2 separate regions of the Homo sapiens genome follow, and region 1 is linked to region 2. Evidence: promoter capture Hi-C in 16 types of primary human blood cells and fetal thymus (Javierre and others, 2016). All regions are on one chromosome and are shown on one strand. The core of a region is centred on a gene start or on the middle of the fragment in contact, and the rest is flanking DNA. Distances in the headings are between cores, read along the strand shown.

Evidence for each region. Contacts are between HindIII fragments. The CHiCAGO score rates a contact against its expected background, and 5 or more counts as called.
Region 1: a contact is called between a fragment that was not itself captured here and the fragment with the promoter of FBN2 in region 2, in 1 of 17 cell types (monocytes). The highest score is 5.1, in monocytes.

The regions. Positions count from the first base shown.
Region 1 is chr5:127,529,611-127,535,930 of GRCh38, forward strand. PRRC1 (proline rich coiled-coil 1) reads left to right here. Exons shown (of 9, transcript NM_130809.5): 5 at 684-786; 6 at 4,013-4,176. Among named protein-coding and RNA genes, the nearest start is that of PRRC1, 15 kb to the left of the region's middle. The HindIII fragment of the contact is 924 bases long and covers 3,579-4,502 here.
Region 2 is chr5:128,534,828-128,541,038 of GRCh38, forward strand. It overlaps FBN2 (fibrillin 2), which reads right to left and starts at 3,418. Exons shown (of 65, transcript NM_001999.4): 1 at 2,523-3,418; 2 at 1,575-1,657. The coding sequence starts at 2,776. RefSeq lists enhancers at 1,088-2,018, 3,744-4,244. The HindIII fragment of the contact is 14,548 bases long and covers 1-6,211 here.

The sequences.
Region 1 (6,320 bases), core at 2,791-5,290, 1.0 Mb before region 2:
AGGCACTGCTCCCTGGAGTGTCTTTTACCCTTTGTGAAGTATCGCACAAGAAGGAATACTCAAGACTTGGTTCCTTTTAGTAGTAACGGCTCTAAGAATCCAGAGGAATAGATCTGAATATAAATGGCGAGTTTGGGAATGTACAAAACAAGAAACAAGAAGTAGGAAAAAGAAGAAACTAGTAGAAGATAGCAAAATGTTGTACGTTAAGGTAATAAGTAACTGTTCTGCCCCCAGACGAGAGGTGTTTTTACTCTTTTTATTTTTTTTATTAGGGAACAAGTATGGACTTACGTAGACACCTGATTGGGACCTTTATTTGGGACCCTAAGGGACAAGTTTTGCCCAATCTTTTATATAAATAAGTAGAAGTGAAATTATATATATGTATATACACACACATATATATGTATATATAGTATAGCATCCTTTCCATACCCATGCTACTCAAAGCGTGATCTGTAGATTGCTGCTGGTCTACACACTGCTGAGTCAGGAAAAAAAATTGAGAGTATCATTTAGAAACTTAATAGCAATTTGATATTGTCATGACCTTATATATCTTACAAAAGTACTGGTTTAGGATGCATTGGAAACTTTTAAAAAAGTTTTCTTCACAATCATGAAGATCATGGTGTTCCTCACTTAGAGTGAATACTTACATATTGATTTGTTTTATGCAGGGTGTGGCTGGGAATCCTATGGTGAAGTCTGTGCTTGATAAGACAAAACATTCAGTAGAAAGCATGATTACAACGCTGGACCCTGGCATGGCTCCCTATATCAGTATGTACATAAGTTAGACCGGTATCTGCCATTTTTTTTTTAAGGGTATGTCCACATCAGCCACTAATTGTAATTCTCTGTTCGTTTCCACTGATTGTGTAATCAGTGGAAATTCTTATTATATTCTTGCATTAATTTAATTGTCAGTCTTATTTTTTGGTGTTACTAATTCATCTTTTTTAAAAGTCATTAAATAAATTTTGAAAATCCCACAGAATGATCCTAGAAGGAGTAAAAACCATGAATTATTGGTATACTTGCTGATTTTAATTTTAAATATAGGTTAGCATTGCTTTATATGAATTTTACTTTATTCACTACTGACATTTGAAGTGATGTTTGTTTCATACTTTTTTTTTTTTTTACATTTCTCCTGTTATCTATTTTAATTAAATGTTTGTGTGTAATTGAGGGATAATATTTTTGGAGGAAGCAAATCTAGTTAATAATATCTAATGACTGGGTATATTGGGAAAGCTATTTTTAACCACCTCTGAACACTAATCATCCAGAATCATCCAGACAGTTGATAGATACTGTCTGCTATTTAATTTTTATGTACATATCCAATATGTGAAAAAATATCACAAGGCTTAGTGACCAATTATTAGTAATTCTGTAAAAGATAACTTTTAAGTCAAAATTGTGCAGCAGGTACCTGAACAGCGATTTCAGTGGCAATAAAAAGCCAATAGCTTTCACAAGTCTTGACTATGTTGGTAGTTTACTGTCTAGTAAATATCAAAAGATAAGGCCTAGCAATTGTTAAGTGTCTTTATTGAATGCTTCTGCCAGGCACTTTCTCATAAGAGCTCTGCAAGGTAGGTATTTTCCTCAAGTTTTGGACGAGGAATCTAGGTTTGGAGGGATGTAAGTTATCACCCTAGATCACACAACTTGGTGGAGCTGTATTGAACTCATGCTCAATTTTTTTACACTTAGCCACTTTGCTTCCCTTGTAGTAGAAAATTGAATCAAGCATTAAATCAACTGAGTTGTTCTTTGTGTTTGTAACTGTCCAAAGAATTCAAAATTGGAGTCCACCATATATGTTCTTTTCTTTGCAAGTACATATTTTGAATGAAGGAAAAAAAGGAATTAATATTTTTGGAGCTTTTGCTGTTTTAATGGCTGTACTATGTTAGACTATGAAAGCAATTACCTTATTTAATCCTTAGAGCAAACCCTATGAGGTGCCAGGTGTTTTTATTCTTCTTCTTCTTTTTTTTTTTTTTTTTTTTTTTGAGACAGAGTCTCACTCTGTCACTCAGACTGGAGTGCAGTGGCGTGATCTCAGCTCACTACAACCTCTGCCTCCTGGGTTCAAGTTATTCTTATGTCTCAGTCTTCTGAGTAGCTGGGACTACAGCCGTGTGCCACCACGCCCAGCTAATTTTTGGTAGAGACGGGGTTTCTCCATGTTGGCCAGGCTGGATAGCAGGCATTTTTCTACAAAGAAACAAGCTCAGTGACTTCCACAAGGTAAAGAAGCTAGTAAATGATAAAGGTAGAGCCATCAAGAAAAATGTGTAACACCGAAGGGGAAAAAAGAAAGGTACAGAAATGAAATTTCTATTATTAGCAAATGTCATAACTTTATCAGCTTTAAAAAGTAATAAAATCGAATTTAAGAAAGCTGACATCTTTACTGACAGCAAAGCATCACCATTCTGATCTAACAAAACAACTCAAAGTAAATCTTAAGGTTTTTTTTTTTGTTGTTTTTTTTTTGAGGTGGAGTCTCACTCTACCGCCAGGCTGGAGTGCAGTGGTGCAATCTCAGCTCACTGCAACCTCTGCCTCCTGAGTTCAAGCGATTCTCCTACCTCAGCCTCCTGAGTAGCTGGACCTACAGGTGCACGCCACCATGCCCAGCTAATTTTTGTATTTTTAGTAGAGATGGGGTTTCACCATGTTGGCCAGGATGATCTCGATCTCTTGACTTTTTGATCCTCCCGCCTAGGCCTCCCAAAGTGCTGGGATTACAGGCGTGAACCACCGCGCCCGGCCATCTTAAGGTATTTTTACACAAATATTCTAGAAATCATTTGATGTAACAATTTCGTATGTGTCAAGAAACTCAAAAAGTATTAGAAATGGCAGGACTACTCATCACAAGCTGAAAAGCCATTTTGAGCTGAAGCTTAATGGAGCAGTACTTAGCTAAGGTCGAGAGATGTGTCCCATGTGGAGGAAAAAAGTGAAAAAAAAAGTATATTCTTCTTCTCTTTTATGTCCTAGTAACTTCTGAAGTATCCAGTACAGATGTGATCTGTGAGACATTATGTCAGTCAGGAAAAAGGGATCCATTATTTTTAAAACCCAAATATTTGAAAATATCTTTCCCTGTTCCACATGATATTTATTAGGGAAAAACAACCTTGTTTCTAGGGCAAAATGTTTTACATTATAAACAATTTTCATGAAAAATCTCTTTTGCCGGTGATAACTATTAATGCCAAATATCAAAATGTGCTGTGTTTAGAACAAGGGCTTTGAATTCATTATATCACAGAAATGTTTGGTTAAGATTTTTAAAAATAATGAAACATTTGGTCAAATTGATCTGTCTAGAAATAGTAGTACTTAGGTTGTTTAAGTAATTGAAAAATTAAAAATATTTGAAAATATTTTTATTTCGTATTACTCTTAATATTTTAAATTTTAAGTTTTATGTGTTATTTCAATTTCATATATGCTTGCATATTTATATTAGGGCAGTAGTACATGTATAATTGATAAATATCTATTTGTGGTGTATGCTCAGAACATTGTGGGGATATTTAATAAAAAGCTTGATGACCCCATATTTAAACTATTTTCTAGGTTAAAAAGTATATTTCATGGTAGTGCTTGTTTAGTACATAACTTCTCTGCAACTCATTGACAAATCACTTACTATCAGTAAGTCTTTATTTTAATTTTCCGTGGAGTATACTAAATATGTAACTTACACTTCACAAGCCAGATATGTGATTTCTGGCTTGTGATATGTAATGTCAGTTTTGAGTCCTGACATTAGTGCTAAGTAGATACGTTACCTTGGGCAAAACTTTGTTGGCCTCAGTTTTCTCAAGCATATAAAAAAGATAATGATCTATATCTTGCATGGTTTTATGAAACTGGTAATAATTATGTATATTAGATGTTAGCACCTGGTATGGTAGTAATTATGAGAATTTCATTATTTTAATTTGAAAGTTAAATTTTCCTCTGGTCTTTTTAGAATCTGGAGGTGAACTGGATATTGTAGTGACCTCAAATAAAGAAGTAAAAGTTGCTGCTGTCCGAGATGCCTTCCAGGAGGTCTTTGGCTTAGCTGTGGTTGTAGGGGAAGCTGGACAGTCCAATATTGCCCCACAACCAGTGGGCTATGCAGCTGGATTAAAAGTGAGTAACAGAACACCATTTTCAGGACATGGAAACTGGCATTTAATTTTTTCACAATTCTGATAATCTGTTGTCTCTATGGAGCTAATAGACTTTTACATACTGAAATAACAATGAACTTTGCTTTTAGTAGACAGCCCTATCGTATTATGAAGATATAGTGGAGTTTTAATTTAAAGAAATTTAAGATAGGTTTTGATTATTGTGGGAGGGAAAGAAACATTGAGAGAGCACAAAAGGAATAGTTAGTCCTAAAAGAGATCTTCTTAATCCAGCATTAACATTCAAATCAATTACTGAGATGATAATATCCCTTGAATCCCATAAGCTTTTATTATCCCTATTGATAATGCTTAAAAATATGTAAGTTCCAGGAATTCCGTCCTCTCTTTCATACTTTATTTTCCTCTCTTTGTGTTATTACCAGCATACAGTCATGCAAGAACAAATTAACAGTTCATTGGCATACAAACATCTTTCTCACCTTGAAAAAAAAAGAAAAAACCAAAGGAAACCCCAACAAATTCTTTGACCTCCCTTCCTCTATAACTTAATGACCTATTTTGCTTCCTTTTGCAGCTAAACTCCAAGGAGTTGGCAGCACTTTTCTCATATCCTTTTCACATTCAGTTAAGTCTACCTCAGTTAGGCTTTGATGTCCAGCACTCTACTGATAGTGCTTTCAGGCTCGTGCTAATGTTCTCCATCTTATTGGACTTACCAGAGGCTTTTGAGACAGTTGATCATGCACTTCTCTTTAATGCTTTTTTCACTTGATTTCTAGGATTCCACACTTTAGTTTTTCCCTCCTTCATGTATTGCTCACTCCTTCTGTACTTCCTTTGCTGATTCCTCCTCTTCTCTCCAGTCTTCTGACGGTCACCTTCTCATCAATTCACTCTCAGACTATCCCATGGCTTTAAATACTGTCTCTGTGCTAACAGTTCCAAATTTATATCTCCACCTGAGACCTTCCTGTAGACTCTTGATTTATATATAAGTTGCCTTTTTGACAAGTTTACTTGAATATCTCAAACTTAATATGTCTAGAACTAAACTTCTTTCCTCCACACTTGCTCCCTCTAGCCTTCTTCACCTTAATTGATGGCAGTTCTAGCCTTCCGTTTTCTCAGGCAAGAAACCTTGGAGTCAGCCCTGACTTCTCTCATTACCCACTTCTAATCCATCAAGAAATCTTATTTGTAAGACAGACAGTTCTTGTTTTTCAACATAATTGTGTTCCATAAAGTTGCTACAGACTGAATTTGTGAATACTGAGCCATTGCTCCCAGGGGAGATACGATGGTTAGGATACTGTGGGCCTCTGGTCACATTTTGCCAACCTGTCAATACATAACTTTGTTTTATGCCTCTTTCTGTTTAAATACATTTTTATACACATACATGCACATATTTTTGATTCATTAATATTGAACTCTCACAGTCAACAGTACTGTAACTCATGCTTGAATGCAGCTTATTTAACACACTCGTTTTCTCATTAAGGCACATCATTGTCTTCTTGTGCTTAGGAACACTACAGCACTCCAGCACTACACTTGGGGGCCATTTGAAAACAGCAGTTAACATCAACAAACACAAAGATGCAAAAAAGAGGTGCTAAATAGATCCCAAAAAGGATACCTGTTTACATTGTGTCAGCTGAAAGAAGAAGTCAGGGCACTGCCTTGTTCAGCCTCAGCTAGGAGTGTATGCATCAGGCAACTCAAATTTCTCATAGCTCTGTGCATGTCCGATTTTGAGATTATAAATAAATTTCATGTGTAGTCAATGGAATCCACAAAACTAATAGGATCGATCAACTGTATTTATGTTTAAGGAGAAACACATTTTCATATATGACATTCTGTTGTTTTATTTGAAGGAGCTTATAATAGCCTGCATTTTTTGAGAACATCCCCTGAGCCAGGCACATAGACCCTTTACCTGCATTCATTTGATGTGTGTAAAGCATTAGAATGAGGTAATTGACATAGCATATTTCATTGGGGAAAAAGTCTGTTGCATTAATTATAATTAGTCACTAAACACAAACCCACACTGACACTAGATTATTTTTAATTCTACTAGGTAGTGCTACATAAGTTTGAGGTGTTCTTTGAGTTGTATTTAGTACTTTATTT
Region 2 (6,211 bases), core at 2,168-4,667:
ATGAACCAATCCCTCCTCCTCGGCTGCTCTCCAACTCAATAATGGCAGTCACATTCATTACATTTAGTGAGTCAGACTTTCCGCCGTGCCTAAGTCACTCCCAGCTAGTATGGCAGGTGTGTGATGAGTGACGTTAGCTGTTTCAGGAGTCTAAAAAACCGTGTAAGTTTAAAGCAGCCATGGTAATGCCCTACTGGCCTGAAAGAGTAAACCCACCCTCCATTAATGCCTCACATATGACTTCTGTGTTGGAGAGAAAAGAATGCAGAACATGTTCTTTTAAAAAATAAAGCAAAGGCTTATTATAATCAGAGGATTTGTTCAAAATATTTATAAGTCACTTTAAATAACACAGTTGTTTCCTATTTTTGCCATTGGAAATAGTGGGATGTTAAGGTAGAAAAAATAAGAAGAAATTAGTCTTTATGACACTGGAGATTTCATCTCTTTTTTAAAAACTGCCCAGAAATAACATTAAGCATCTATCTCAAAACCACAAAACCAATAAATACAGAGTTAGAAATGCCACTACATCCTTATTATCCCTTGGTTAGTGTGCCTTGCCCTTTTTCTCTGTTCACAGTTGCATAATTATTTTCTCCCTGGAGAACATGGAGGTCAATCTAAAGTCAAGACTGGCTCTAAATGAATGTGCTGTCTATGATACCTGGCTCTCCTTCCAACAAGACAAATGTGGTTGTGCTACATAAACACACAGGAGAAGGCCAGTCACACTGCAAGTCACAAATTTACAGGCATATGAAATAAGACATCCCAGAGTCCGTGACTGTGAGGCTGATAACTAATGAGCTCTCCAATTAGAACTTGGAGAACTGGTTATACACTTTGGAAACAGAATAAAATAATCAAAACTTTTAAGGTCAGAGATACAGAATTTTTCAAGGTCTAAGATTCATACTTTGGAAATCTACTGCACACTATTGAGGTTCAGGGTCTGGAAACCCTAAATTTAAACGTCTTCCAAAAAGCAAAAAAAAAAAAAAACTCAAGCCCCTTTGTAAGAGTTCTGTCTTTTAAAAGTTTGTTAACTTAGGTCAACACTAAATCCGCGAGAATGCTCCTTTCGTATCTAGGTTATGTGGTTGTTGATATAAAACCAGAAATAAGAAAGTGGTTTTATATAAATGCCTAAGAAATCTTGATCTTCATAAGGCCCAAACCTCAAGCAGAGTTAAAAGCCTGATAATTTGCATAATAACATGTGGTCTCATCTGGATTTTTTACAGAAAAAGTGGTTTTGAGTTATCTAGATAATTGCTCTACTCCTCCCCTCTTCCAATTTGTATTAATAGACATAGAAAGATAAAACTTTCAATTATCTTTGAAATCTTTATCATTATTGCCCTTCAACAGAGTCTAGAAGTGAAGTCTGAACTGACTCAAACCGGTTGAGTCTTCCCCACTATTCAAATGGGGCCGCGTCCCGATTATCAGTGCAATGTGATCACTTGATTTTAAACGCAACTATGCGTCCAAATGGCTGAGTGCAAGAGGTCGGCCGGAGATAGGGCCGAGTGCGCTGCCCCAAGCTGCGATCCCTGCCAAGCACTCACGGACAATGCACTGGTTTCCTCCAGGGAGCGTCTTCCATCCAGGGCAGCAGTAGGAGTGGAATCTGGAGCCGCACACGTTGGGCCTGTGATGGACAAGCGCGGTCACGTAACAGATAGGTAGAGGGATGCAGCAACATATAAACGGTCTTCGTAAGCAATGCCCCGAGCGAGTAGATTTCAGGACAACAAACAAATCAAAATTACACTTCAAATTATTGGAGATCGGGAGGCAGACGTGGAAGCAAAAGAGCTAGATGCTGGAATGCAGGAGGGTCAGAAATGTCTAAACACTGCCTTTCATCTGTCGTCCCTTGCCTGCCTTTTTAAAGGGCGAAAAGAGGCATGGAAACATATAATTTGCTACTATTCTAGCTTCCAGATGCAGAGAACAAAGGGACCATTCCGTTCCAAAGAATCCTTGCCCTCCTTCCCAAATCCATTCCTCCTTGGTCAACTGTTACTTTGGCCCCGACGTGTCAAGGAAAGCGCGTCGCAAGGTGGAGCGCTCGGGTTGACGATGAGAAGGTGAGCTGTGAACCCTGCACACGTCCTCAAACAAAAGGCTCACGAGCGGCGGCCCCGACGTGGGGAGCAAGCAGGCTTCTCTGGCCCCTGCAGCAGGCGGACCCAGGCCCGCCTGCCGCCGGACATTCAGAACCTGTTCCCGCAGCGCGAGCTCTGCACACGCTCTGCGATCGGCACCCCTGGACCCCCTAACCACCCGCCGCCCAACCCCCGGAGAGAGGGCTTTCCGCCCGCTGAGCTGCGGGGTTGGGAAGGAAAAGGGGGACGCGCTCCTGGGGGTCTTTGGATATTCTGGCAAAGGGGGCTGCAGCTCTAGGCTCCAGCTAAAGGGTCTGGGACGGAGTGGGCCAGAAAGCCGCCAAACTGAGGATTCCCCCCTCCCCCAAGCCGGAGCCCTAGGTGCGGAGCCGCTTGCCCACTTACCCTCGGAGCACGTCCTGCTGTCCTCGCCGGCGGACGCGGCTGGCCACTGCGGCACCCTCCTCGCGATACTCGGGCGCTAGAAACCCGCCTTCAGAGCCTGCTGTAGCGGACCGAACCTGTTGCGGCGGCGGCTGGGGCCGGGGCGGCTTGGGCGGAGGAGGCTGAGGCTGGCCGGCCGTGCCCTGCGCCCAGAGCACCACACAGCCCAGCCACAGGAAGTAGAGCTGGAGACACAGCCTCCGTCTTCTCCCCATCGCCGGCGCCGAAAGCGCGCGGCCGTAGACCCGCGGAGAGGGAGTGATCAAAGACAAAATCTGCGCGCCTCAGAAAAGAGTCAGGGTCTAATAAGCCCTTCGTCGGCTCCGGGGACTCCCTCGGGCTCGGGCTCCCTGCTCTAGCTGGAGACCTCGACAGAGCGCCGGCCCCCTGACTGCCCGCGAAGCGAGACGCGGGGCGCCGGGTCTAGCGCAGTGAGCGGCGAGGCGCGGCGGAGGTGCAGCCGGCAGCCCCGAGCGGTACACGTTGCATAACCGGCCTAAAGCCCCGAGCGACTCCAGGACCGTCAGCGGGCGGGGGAGGAAATTACAAAAGCCCTGGCGTAAAATTTCAAAAAATGTGAACCTCAAAAGAAAAAAGGGCCTGCACGCAGAGCTCGGCGGATTCCCGTGCGCTCCGAAGACGGATATTGGAAAGCTGCAAAAGTCACCAGAAAGAAACAGGCAAGCAAACAAAAGTCGCCCCCAGAAGAAGAGGAGGGTTCCCTCCGGGCTCGCTCGGAGTCCCACAGGGCAACGAAGCGCGGGTAGCGGCTGCGGAGCCGGGCGGAGGTGCGCGGGGCCGGGGCGTGCGGCCAGCAAGAGAGAGGGCGGGAGGCTGGGCGCTGGAGAAGATGCGGCGGTGGAGGGCGCGGCGCGGGGGTTTTAGAGGCCCGGCGGGGCGCGGGGCGGGCCGGCGGGCGGCGGCTGTCAGTGGGGGCGCGGCCGTCCACACGTGGGGCTCAACCCGGACTGAGAGGCCGGCGCAGAGTGGGCGGGGACAGAGTAAGGGAGAGATCGGGACTGAGGAACGAGGGGAACCAGGGTTGGGTGAGGGGAAGAGGAAGGAAGGGGGGGAGGGCGAAGGGAGGGAAGAGGACGGAGATTGGGGAGAAGGGGGGCGAACCCGAGAGGAAGGCCGGGCTGGAAGAGGGACTTGGAAAGAGGGATTGGCGAGCCCGGGTGCGAGAGGAAATGAGCGGGGGATGGGGGCGAAGTTAGGGCAAAGAGAGAAGTGGGAAAGGAGAGGGAGGGCCAAGGTCCGGGCGCCGAGAGGAGGGGCCCGGGGGGCCGGCTGGAGGGGGCGAGGCGCTAGGCGGCTTTGCTTCCCGTCCCCGTCAATTGGCCGCTAGCTCTGTTTTGACTGCCTGTACAAAGCGAGTAGACGGCGGGGGATGGGGCGATTAGGGACCGGATTTGGGAAAGGAGGCAGCAGCCCCTTCCCCTCCCCCTCCGTCCTCGCCCGGCCGCGGACCAGGGACTAGGGTGCCTAAGCGCGCCAGGCTTGGCCGGACCCGCAGCTGAACTGACCCGCAGCTGAACTTCCCCGCCGGACAGAGGCCGCAAGGTTGAGGATGAGAACGGGTCTTTCTGTAGGGTCCCGGCCCCTGACCTGGGATGGGGGGATTCGCAGTCAGCCAGGAATAGAGGCTCACGGGGCTGTTGGTTGCAGCCTCAATCCAAGAAGGAGGAGACCTCCCCTTTGCCCTCCTACCCCCACCGCCCCACCGGGAGCGGCGTCAGTCTGCGGGACCAAATTAGGGGCTGGGAGTTTCCAGATTGAAATGCGCCCTCCACCACCAAGAGGGAGCTCACGCGGCCGCGGGGGGCCGAGGCAGCCAGCCGGCGCCGCGGTCCTGGGGAGTCCGTGCAGGGGTGTGCTCTGGTGTGAAACCTGGCAGGACTCTGCCTGGGCTTGCATGCAGGGAGGGGTTAGAGACTCTGAAATGTACTAGCGGGCAGGGTGGTGACAAGGCGGGTAAATGAGGCTCGGGGCATGCCCTTGCTTCCTGGCTTGGACCCCTTCTGATTGATTAAATCCTAGCAATTGGTGCAACCCTCTGTACCTCTTAGAGTGCCTCTCACCGGCCTGCTCTGGGTTCTTCCTTTGTGGCCCTCCTTTCATGAAATCTCTGTGAAGTCCTGGTCATTTCTCATTTAGTGGAATATCACAATTTAAAAATCAAACACTCCTGAAAACAAGGAGAGACCATCCAAGCACAGTTTGCGAAACAGTACAAAAGAGCAGTGTCTGGTTTATTCAAGCCTAGAAAACCTTAGTTTAAAGGGGAAAATGTTGAATATGTATAGGAGGGTGTGTGTGTGTGTGTGTGTGTATATATATACACGTACATATATACATATATACACATAACATATATATGATATATATCATATATCATATATATCATATATCATATATATGATATCATATATATGATAGATCATATATGATATATCATATATATGATAGATCATATATATCATATATATGATATATGATATATGATATATATGATAGATCATATATGATCTATCATATATATCATATATCATATATATCATATATATCATATATATCATATATATCATATATATCATATATCATATATATCATATATATCGTATATATCATATATCGTATATATCATATATATCATATATCATATATATCGTATATATCATATATCATATATATCATATATCATATATATATCATATATCATATATATGTATTTCTGGCCCAAATTGCCCAGATGTGCTATTTGACAGCCAAAATTCTCCAGTAATTGGCACAACTCCCTCCTTTATTTCTCCATGTAGTCAAAGGGTCTGAAGGTAGTACCCCTTGTTACAGTATTCTCATAAAGCAGAAGAAAAGATAAGAGTTACATAATTTCATGTGAGACACCGATTTGTTAAAATCCAGAGAAAGAGCAATACAGTTATTTTCACGTACTTCGCTTCAAATAATAAAATTATTTAAACTAAAAGAGCTAACTAATGTAACTATCTCCTGGTTTAAAGCAGTGTTTTAGTCATACCATTTAAAACATCCTGTATCTGCTTTTTTTGTTGTTGTTGCTGTTGTTTAATACTTACGTGGCTTCATGGTTCATTCCTGTCCATCACATTAAATCTAAATGCTCTAGAATTGCCTATGCCTTTACCCTTTGATCCAGCAATTCCACTTTTAGGAACCTATATAAAAGATACATAGACAAAAAAAAATGAAATGGTGCATACATTTGACTGTTCTTTGCAGCACTGTTTATAATAGTGAAAGACTAGAAACACAAACTTCCCATGAACAAGCAACTGTTGTGTATGACTTCATCTATTCAGTGAAGTATTATGCAGCTGTCAAATATGAATGAAGAGAAACTCTGTATGCTCTTAGAGAGTGATCTCTAGCATATACAGTCTACTAAAATAAAAAAAAAGCAAGGTACAGATAGACTAGGCAGTTCATTGAGACAAAGTAGAATAAAGGTTACCAGGAGCTCCAGGAAAATGGGAAGGATGAGTTATTGTTTAGTGAGTACAAAGTGGTCTGCCTAGGATGATGAAAAAGTTAGAAATGGATAATGGTGACGGTGGTCCAACATTGTGCATGTACTTAATGCTACTGAATTGCACGCTTAAAAATGATTA